Linked DNA regions of Homo sapiens: region 1 is linked to region 2. Evidence: promoter capture Hi-C in human tissues and cell types (Jung and others, 2019). All regions are on one chromosome and are shown on one strand. Each heading gives the region's core, a stretch centred on a gene start or on the middle of the fragment in contact. The rest is flanking DNA. Distances are from core to core; before and after follow the strand shown. Region 1 overlaps SUPT3H (SPT3 homolog, SAGA and STAGA complex component). Region 2 holds the start of RUNX2 (RUNX family transcription factor 2).

What was found. Contacts are between HindIII fragments. The study calls those that stand out against the background at their distance.
Region 1: a contact is called between a fragment that was not itself captured here and the fragment with the promoter of RUNX2 in region 2, in 2 of the 25 tissues and cell types used here (mesenchymal stem cells and spleen).

Annotation. Positions count from the first base shown.
Region 1 is chr6:44,951,910-44,957,355 of GRCh38, forward strand. It overlaps SUPT3H (SPT3 homolog, SAGA and STAGA complex component), which reads right to left. Exons shown (of 11, transcript NM_003599.4): 8 at 2,586-2,698; 9 at 1,401-1,508. Among named protein-coding and RNA genes, the nearest start is that of MIR586, 240 kb to the right of the region's middle. The HindIII fragment of the contact is 5,370 bases long and covers 1-4,793 here.
Region 2 is chr6:45,324,953-45,330,007 of GRCh38, forward strand. It overlaps RUNX2 (RUNX family transcription factor 2), which reads left to right and starts at 3,378. Exons shown (of 9, transcript NM_001024630.4): 1 at 3,378-3,508; 2 at 3,709-3,832. The coding sequence starts at 3,775. The region is part of intron 2 of SUPT3H (SPT3 homolog, SAGA and STAGA complex component); the gene reads right to left. RefSeq lists a cis regulatory region at 2,096-2,102, a promoter at 3,060-3,700 and an enhancer at 3,107-3,147. The HindIII fragment of the contact is 4,056 bases long and covers 1,797-5,055 here.

The DNA.
Region 1 (5,446 bases), core at 859-3,358, 370 kb before region 2:
ATCAAAGACATTTTAAAGGGGGTTTTTTGACATCATAATTTGGGTTTGTAACATAAAGAAAACAAATAGTGATTAATCAACTAAGTAAGCTTTAGGGACTTTTGTATGTTGACTGATAATGATGTATGACCTTTTCTAAGAAAAAAATGGATTTTTAATGGGCATAAACATTTTAATCCCTATTTGGTTTCCAAGCCAATTTGATTTTCCAAGGGGCATAAGAAAATGTTGAATTGTCCTTTTGTTTGTAATAAGATGCTATATGGGCATATATGTTAACATATTTTCTATGTATCCTAGAGCAGAGAAATTTAAACCTAGGGTCCATAGGGTTCACAGATCCCTTGGATCCATAGAATGGCTTCAGAATGTCTCTGAACAATCTGAAACTGTAGGCAAAATTTGTGAATGTGTTTATAGAAAAAGGGTTTATAGTTTTCATCAGATTCTCAAAGGGGTGTGTGACCTAAAGAAGATTACAACTACTTCTTAGAAATGATTTGAACCACTATCCTTGCCTATAGATATTTAACAAGGAGTAGAAATGTGTAATCAAGGTATGGCTATAAAACAGAGCTTAGCCATTTTCAGGTTATATATTTCAACCAACTTGATCCAAAACGTACTTCACAACTCTACATGTAGATGCGAACTTAACCTTCTTGCTGTCTTATCTATGGATATTCGATTGAATTACGTGAAACTGCTGTTTTTGTTAGTGAAAAGGGTCGAATATTGGCAAATACATTCAAGACACTGCAATACATTTCTGGTTTTGAGGTAGATGCTGTTTACAGAGGAGATTCTGTATACTAAAAGTGGTGCACAGTTATTATACAGAGCCTTAAAATTGGAAAGAAAACTTTACGGTTCCCATAGCAAAGCCAGATCAGAAAAGAATATAATTTTCACATAGTAGGGGCAATCTAAAAACTCAAGATGAATGAAGACAAGCTTCTTTAAATCATTTTTAGAGATGAATCAATAACTGAAATGGAAAGTTATCAATAAATGCCAGGGATTATTTTGTGAATAATAATGATAACCCTCTTATCTTTTGAAGCACAAAGAAATAAATGACTTTTCCAACATTACCTAAACCAGTTTTTCATCTCCCATAAAAATAAGAAATGCCTTGCAACTATCCCTTTCAATGAAGGGGTAGGAAAGCTAAGTGAAGCAAGAAAAACGTGAAAAAAGTCATTGTCTTAAGTGGACTGTCAGGGCCTGGCACACAGTAGGTGCTCAATTAAATACTTATTTGAATGTCTAATGTATTAAGATTCTTTGACTGAAGGTTATACACTCCTGCATAATCTTTATTAAAGAATCACTAATGTAAATACCAGATATGTGTCAAAATTCACAAATGTTTTAAGACAGATTTTTTTTGTACTTACCTCAGCAGAGTTGTGATACTGAATGAAGGTTGCAGAAATGGCATGGCTGAAGGGGTCCCCTGCCTTGGTTACCATGTCTTGCCTCACAAGAAGAGCCAGATCCACTAACTAGAAGACCAGAAGAATGAAAGTCACATAGCTAGAAATAATCATGAATGCCACTGAAGTGGCAAACCTAAAAGCAATACATTCTGAATGTTACTGATAATCCTGCTTGCCTAAAAATCTATATTGTAGACATGAGCACACACTTTCATTGACTGGTGAATGGACCTAGTCATGATATATTCTGACTTTTTAGGAGAGTAGTTCTCAAAATTTATTTCACAGTCACTAGTGCAAATTTCTGGGCTTTAAGTCCAGAGATTCTAATTCAGTAGGTCTGTTTTAAGCATATAGTCTAGGAATTTGCTTATTTTATTTTATTTTATTAATTTTTGAAATGGAGTTTCGCTCTTGTTGCCCAGGCTGGAGTGCAATGGTGCGACCTCAGCTCACTGCAACCTCGGCCTCCTAGGTTCAAATGATTCTCCTGCCTCAGCCTTCCTGAGTAGCTGGGACTACAGGTGCCCGCCACCATGCCCGGCTAACTTTTTTTTGGTATTATTAGTAGAGATGTGGTTTCACCATATTGGCCAAGCTGGTCTTGAACTCCTGACTGCAGGTGATCCACCCACCTCGGCCTCCCAAAGTGTTGGGATTACAGGCAAGAGCCACCGCGCCTGGCCAGAATTTGCATTTTAAACAAGAACCAAGGAGATGCTGATGCCTGTGGTCTAAAGACCACATCTTGAGAAAGTCTTTTAGAGGGCGAGATTCCAGACCCAGAATTTGGTAAGTACTCCTAAATTCTCACATACGTAGAAAGGTGTTTTTCAAAGCTCAAAAATAATCTCTAAACAAGGCAGATGTGGATTTGAGTTCAATGTCAAGAAAAAGCATGCAGGGATTCCATTTCTCATTAAGATAAAGGTACAAGAACTCTTTTTTATCCTAGCATCCACTTGAATTGAGGATGCAGAGACACATAACTGAACTAAATTTTAGAAAATGATGTAAATGCCACAGGAGAGAATTCATGGCTGTTATTACTGGTAGAGCAGCAGGGAGAAGAAGAATTGATCATGGGCAGAGATAAAGAAAAACCAGCCAGTGTGGCCCGATATGACAGATTAGAATTCTTACCTGTGCCACAGTTTCATACGCTAAATATGCTAAGATTTCCATTGCGACAACATTGGGTTTTATCTCCATACTGCTGCAGTCCAACCAGTCTCGAAATTTGGAAGCTTTTTTGGCTGGCCATTTAAAAAAAACAAGTGCAGAAATTTTAATTTTTAAAGTGTTTTAATACTGCACATTACTATCACAAAATTAAAAAAGTATACTCAGAATTGTACACAAAAAATAATGCACATAAAATGCATAATTAATGTCTAGATATTCTGGCCCCAAGAAATCCAAGTTTTAACTCTCAGTTATAAGGCAACACAATGGTTGTTTTCAACAACTCTCTTACGTATTTGGGTCTTTTATTTTACACCTATGCTATATGACATAGTATATTAAAGCATTTAATGTTTAATACTTCTCACACTGTCAGATTTACCATTGGCTACCGCTCATGTTACAACAAGAAGTCAGAAGATGTTCTTGTCTGATGTAACCTTAATTTACTCATATAGAAAGAAAATCTTGCAAGAAAGAACCTGTGATGAAAAAAGAAACATACAGAAACTATTGCTAATATTTTTCAAAAATATTCTCTAGTCTCAGAAGAAAATGGCACATAGCAGGCAGGATTAACTTGCAGCTCCCACTTGGATGGGTAGAGCAGCACGTGGAGACCCACACTGTGAACTTTTGCTCCAAGAACTACCGTAGGAATATACCAGGAAAGCCAAGAGCCACAGACCCCTTGAAGGAGGTGGATCACCACTGCAGGCTCTGTGGGACGCAGAGGAACTGTGAGTAGGCTTGCTTTCTCAGCTAGGAAGCCGGTAGCCTGGGGAAAGTTCTCAGCCCTGCTCACCAGCTGCCTGGAAATAAAGTTGGTGCTGTTACGGGCAGAGGGCATGGTGGAGTGAGACCGGCCTTTCGGGCTGTGGGCTGCATGGGAGCTGGGTGAGGCCTGCGGCTGCTGGCTTTCCCCCACTTCCCTGGCGACCTGCGTGGGGCAACAGAGGCAGCCATAATGCCCCTGGCAACGGTAACTCCCTTGTTCTAGAAGCCACACCCTCATCCCCCACAACAGCCACAGCAAGCCCCGCCCAAGAAGAGTCTGAGCTCAGACATGCCTAACCCTGCCTCCAGCTCATGGCAACCCAAATATCCTATACTCTCACTTATAACTGAGAGCTAAACTATGAGGACGCAAAGGCATAAGAATGATACAGTGGAATTTGGGGACTCAGGGGAAAGGGTAGGAGGGGGGTGAGGGATAAAAGACTGCACATTGGGTACAATATACACACTGCTCGGGTGATGGGTGCACCAAAACCTCAGAAATTGCTACTAAAGATTCATGTAGGCTGGGCGCGGTGGCTCACGCCTGTAATCCCAGCACTTTGGGAGGCCGACGCGGGCCGATCACGAGGTCAGGAGATCGAGACCATCCTGGCTAATATGGTGAAACCCCGTCTCTACTAAAAATACAAAAAAAATTAGCCAGGCATGGTAGCGGGTGCCTGTAGTCCCAGCTACTTGGGAGGCTGAGGCAGGAGAATGGTGTGAACCTGGGAGGTGGAGCTTACAGTGAGCCGAGATGGAGCCACTGCACTCCAGCCTGGGCGAGTGCGAGACTCCGTCTCAAAAAAAAAAAAGATTCATGTAACTAAACACCACCGGTTCCCCAAAAAACCTACTAAATAAATACGTTTAAAAAAAGTGTCTAGGTCGGGCGCGGTGGCTCACGCCTGTAATCCCAGCACTTCGGAAGGCCAAGGTGGGCAGATCACGAGGTCAAGAGATGGAGACCATCCTGGCCAACATGGTGAAACCCCATCTCTACTAAAAATACAAAAAATTAGCTGGGCGTGGTGGTGCGTGCCTGTAGTCCCAGCTACTCGTGAGGCTGAGGCAGGAGAATTGATTGAAACCGGAAGGTGGAGGTTGCAGTGAGCCGAGATGGCGCCACTGCACAACAAGAGCGAAACTGTCTCAAAAAAAAAAAAATAAAAAAAAAAAATAAAAATAAAAAAAAAAAAGTGTCTATTACCAGAATGGCTCAAAGTTGTAAATTTAAAGTTAAATAAACTGACATCTGGTCTAATCTAAGCCTGTGGTTACATTTTTTCCGGTTATGAAGATGTCTAAATTCTTAAGCCTGACTCAAAACCATCCAGACTGATTCCAAGCAGCCTTTAAGATATTTCCCTATTAAACCATCACCTGGCCTTGAGTCTTTTCCTCTGTGTGTCTACTCCTACTCCTTTCCTTCCATGGAATGCTCTGCCATCACTCTTCTTCATTCATATGAATCTTGATCATACAGGCCAAAGGTATACTTCCCTACTCTAGCCATTTATTGAACACTGATACCATCAGATATTCTTTCACAAATGCTTATAATTTCTTAAGCCATATTACAAATTTTTGTGGGAGAAGACCATGCCTTATGTCTCTGCATGTGTAATAGTACCAAGCATATACAGAACCAAGCGCGTATGTAACCTTTAGTTAAATATCTCTACACTGCCACAGTGCTAAGCAGTCTAATTTGATATAGGGACTTCATTAGACATTATTCATTTAACTAGTAACCTAGAGGGAAAGATTGATAGTGAAGATTTTATGAAATCTGTAAGATTTTCTTTATAATCCACTGATTATTCTTTTGATTAATCTGGCCCCACGGGTCTATAAAACACTTAATAGTAACTCAAAGCATGATATTTTGATCCTTCTATATAGAATCTTCAGGATTCCACATACAGAAGAGTTCTCTTTTAAATAAATCATGGAAAACATTAAGTCCTGCTATCGAAGCATATACCCAAAGCTGTCAAATATGGCAGAATTATGATAATCCCCCTTAAAGCTATCTC
Region 2 (5,055 bases), core at 2,128-4,627:
ACTATACATATTTTACTAACAGAAGTAGTCAATATAAGGCCAAATAGATCCCGTGTAAGCTTAAACAGCTATACATCAAATCCAAAAAAAAGAAAAATTGTCAAAAAAAAGTAAAATAAGAAACAGTCACATACCAAGATGAAACAATAAGTTAAAAACTTCCTTCGTAAAACCTCATAATCAGAACATTTTAAGCCAAATTAGGACTTCTAAAGTTTAAAAATTCCTGCATCAAACCATTTTCTCCTTTGTTTTTCAAAGAATGAGCAGCAAATAAAAGAATAGAGTTAGCAGCAAATAAGTCTAAAATAATCCTTAAAAAAATGCATAGAAATGAGCACAATATTGATAAAGTAAAACTAATGTATTAAAATATGATCATTAGTTAAGAAAATAAAAAATTACTCAAATGGTTACAATGAAGACACACATAGCATTTAAACACAAATACCTTGGTATTTTCAAAAGTTCAACCAATTCTAACACATTTTATTCACTACAAAGCAATGGAGAAGCAAGATACCAACAACTTTTTTTCTTTGAAATTGATTTCAAGATCAAAACTGTATTTCATTTCCATGGCATTAAAGTATGTGATTTATACAGTATACCTAAACTTGTTGCTTACTTCAAAACAGCAAATACTAACATGTCCCCAGAGAGGATAAAATTTTATGGGTCTTTAAAAAGCAAAAATAAAAATAAAAATAAATCTGTGGTTTTCAATTTCTGATTATAACCATGGTATAAATCTATAATCAAGAGCTTTATTTGCATTGACTTTTCTAAATCAGTATCTCTTCACCACGTGTAGTAAGCTATTTCTAATGAAACACACTGTTATCAAATGTGTACCAATTATCAAATGTGCCCCAGTTGTCATTGTTTTTTAAATTTTTACAACAAAGTAATATTTGCTCCAAAGAGGATATATTTTCGTTTTAGGAAAAAAATTCATGTGGATAATGAATATACTAACTTAAAGCACATGATTTCACTATCTTTCTCCTGCTAGAATTTGATAGGCCTCACAGAGGACAAAAAGTGCATATATAACAATATCTACTAAACTCTCAAATCCTGGTCCAAAAATTACATGCAGGAGGATTACCTGCAAAAAGTGAACAGGTAATTAAATGACAAATAGATGTTAAAAATTACTTAAATTCTTATCAGGTCAATTTGAAGAGCCAAAGTTTACATAAAGAAGATTTTAAGGAAGAAAATAGCAAAATGTTGGGTTTGTAAGATGTTTCAGTGAATGCTAATGTAGAAACTATAAGCTTATTTGAAAAGAAGAAAACCATTTGCTGATCATACTACAGCAGCTACCTACATATTTTCAATTAAGTGATTCTGCTATTATAGGTACACATGAAACCATGTTTGGAAATCCCACAAGCTATAAGGACAAAACCCTCCTTTTGTTTACTTTGGATACTAATTAGAGATACAGATAATATGGATACGACTTATTTATAAAAGAGAAAAAATAATTTTTCTCTCCTTCACATGAATAACTGCATGTTAAATGAACGCTTTTACCTTTCAATGTAAAATCTGTTTACACATACAATAAGGCATGATAAATCCATAGTTAAAATAAAACACCAAAATGTATTTCTGGTTTTTTATCACTAAAAGTTTATTCTGAAAAGGTTCTGGACATTTGAAAAATAAAGGACTAGAATCATTCCCATACCCTACCAGTGTATTTTGGGAAAATCAAATTTTCTGTAAAGAAACTTATGAACATATTTGTACAGTTATTGTGATCTAATATGAACCAAAAGCAGATAATGAATAGCACTAGGAAGAACACAGGGATATTTTAGTTCTAACACCCTCCTGTCTCCCTAGCCCTTACCTCCCTGCACATTCCAAATAATCTTTTGTAATTCACTGTCTCCGCCCACCCCATTTACTTTATGCCACTCCTAGTTACTGTCACACTAGGAAGAAGTCTAACATGCAGATTTAGAGTGGCATGGATAAATGGCAAAAAAATGCCTAGAAAATTGGTCTGTTCGCCTTTATAATTTTGGTTGAAAAATACTCCATCGCTCCCAACTGATGAAAACAGGAAGCTCTATTCATAAATATAAAATTCACTGCCTATGATATATAATCATCCTAATAAGAAAATGAGTTCTATACATACTTGTCCAAAGGGGCAAAAAAGGAGATAGTTTCCCAAAGATGTTTCCAATTTTCTTCTGAATCAGAATTAGCAAATCGAGACGACTAACATACTCTGTCTGTGGGCATTATTCCTTACTACACACAGCATTTTGTAATTTATTTCAAAGCTTCCATTAGAAACAAAAAAATACATAGCTTCTGTTAACCCACTCTATTCTAAGCTCATAGAATCAAATACTGAACAATCTACATTATAACATAAGCATTTTACTTTATAGAAGATCTGCTATCAGAAACTCTATTAATGTCTAAACTACTTAAAGAACTATATAAACTGAATACACTTCAATGAAAGACAAAAAATATTACAATCATAAAGAAAACTAAGATTCATCCAATAAACTATATTACAATCCCTGTCATTCATTTTTTTAAGATCTTCAAACTAGGCATGAGATAATGGTATACATGAAACATTACATTTAATCTTTATTGTAAAGGCCGCCATCTAATAGATTGATAATAAACTAGACAGACGTGATTTAAAATTTGTAAAAGAATGCCCAGACTAACACTTTCATGACAGCCAATTATAGTCAAGCCTAGCAAGCAGTTTGCAACCAGACCTTAAGGTAAACTTTTTTTTTTTTTACAATGAGTTACAGATTCACAAGTTTAAGAAGACAAGAAAAAGGAAAACAGAAGGAATCCAGCCACCCAGCAAATATGAAGCAGACCCCAGAATGTGATACAGTCCAAAGATGTGAATTATTGTATATCATCACTGTTGTTCAGAATTTCACACAGACTCTTGAGCCAATTTTGTTCATTTTTCCACAGACACAATAATGAACTAAAAAGAGGAGGCAAAAAGGCAGAGGTTGAGCGGGGAGTAGAAAGGAAAGCCCTTAACTGCAGAGCTCTGCTCTACAAATGCTTAACCTTACAGGAGTTTGGGCTCCTTCAGCATTTGTATTCTATCCAAATCCTCATGAGTCACAAAAATTAAAAAGCTATATCCTTCTGGATGCCAGGAAAGGCCTTACCACAAGCCTTTTGTGAGAGAAAGAGAGAGAGAGAAAGAGCAAGGGGGAAAAGCCACAGTGGTAGGCAGTCCCACTTTACTTAAGAGTACTGTGAGGTCACAAACCACATGATTCTGCCTCTCCAGTAATAGTGCTTGCAAAAAAAAGGAGTTTTAAAGCTTTTGCTTTTTTGGATTGTGTGAATGCTTCATTCGCCTCACAAACAACCACAGAACCACAAGTGCGGTGCAAACTTTCTCCAGGAGGACAGCAAGAAGTCTCTGGTTTTTAAATGGTTAATCTCCGCAGGTCACTACCAGCCACCGAGACCAACAGAGTCAGTGAGTGCTCTCTAACCACAGTCTATGCAGTAATAGTAGGTCCTTCAAATATTTGCTCATTCTCTTTTTGTTTTGTTTCTTTGCTTTTCACATGTTACCAGCTACATAATTTCTTGACAGAAAAAAATAAATATAAAGTCTATGTACTCCAGGCATACTGTAAAACTAAAACAAGGTTTGGGTATGGTTTGTATTTTCAGTTTAAGGCTGCAAGCAGTATTTACAACAGAGGGTACAAGTTCTATCTGAAAAAAAAAGGAGGGACTATGGCATCAAACAGCCTCTTCAGCACAGTGACACCATGTCAGCAAAACTTCTTTTGGGGTAAGTGTTACCATTTTTAAAATCCTGTAAGATATGAACCTGTTAAACATAAAGGTATGATTCTTTGATAAACTGCTAGCTTTTCCAAATAGCATATTAAAGATCCTAATTATGCTATCTTGTTGCATTAAGAATTGAAAAATGAAATTTCTGTATATATTTGCATTTGGTATCTGTAATGTATCTAATTTTCAAAGTAATGACTTGAAATATACAAAATTAAATTATCTCACATTGATCAAAATGTTTTCTAGAGTTATAGAGGTGAGGATATGAAAACAGTAAAAGAAACAGTTTAATACTCTCATTAACCCTCACCAGAAGAAAAGTCAGATCCTAAATTAATCAAAGCATTATAAATTATTGACTCCGGCAGCTCCCAATATTTGAGCAAACTTCAAAAAGGAAGCAATTTTACAAAATAACAGACCACAGAATTATCTCAACATTATGGTCTACCATGTATAACACAGAAATAAACCTGTAGTACAGTTAACATTTTAACCAGCTCAACTAAAAGAAATCTACTTATAAATTCAAACTGTATCCTATCTAAATAAGTTTGTTTCTAAACAACTTTATATAAGTATACATTCAGCTGAAATAAAATTATGATAAGCACATCACAGCCATTTTTAAAAGATCTTTATAGTTGCCCAGGATATTAAAAAGTTCATGGAAGTATTTTAAAACTTACATGCAACTGCATTTTTCTATGTAATTTTAATTTTACATCTACACACTGTTATCCATAGACCTTGTTATAAACACACTGAAACACTGAAACGTCTAAGATTCTTTTAATCACATTCTTGGACCTACCAAAATGAATAACTGCTGTTTAGTCTCATGAAAAATAAAGCTCCATAAGGATACCCTGTATGATTTTTAAAAGCCACAACTATTAAACCATGCTGGACTTTAAAAGAAGTAGGCATAATCTTGTCCCTTAATATTTAATTTCAAGTTACTGTTGATACAGATATGTAAATGACTTTAACATTCATCAGCTGATGTGTTATTATAGCAAAATATCTAAACACACTTACAAGATTCTCTTTATGATCTCCAACATGTTCCAACTACAAGGCAAGTTTTCAAAAATTTTTCTTATATCCATTAAAATAAACCTTCTTGCTGTGTACATCTATATTAACTCTGCTTTTAACTTACAACTAATGACTGGAGTTTCCTTTACTCCTCCTACTTCACACATTTTAACT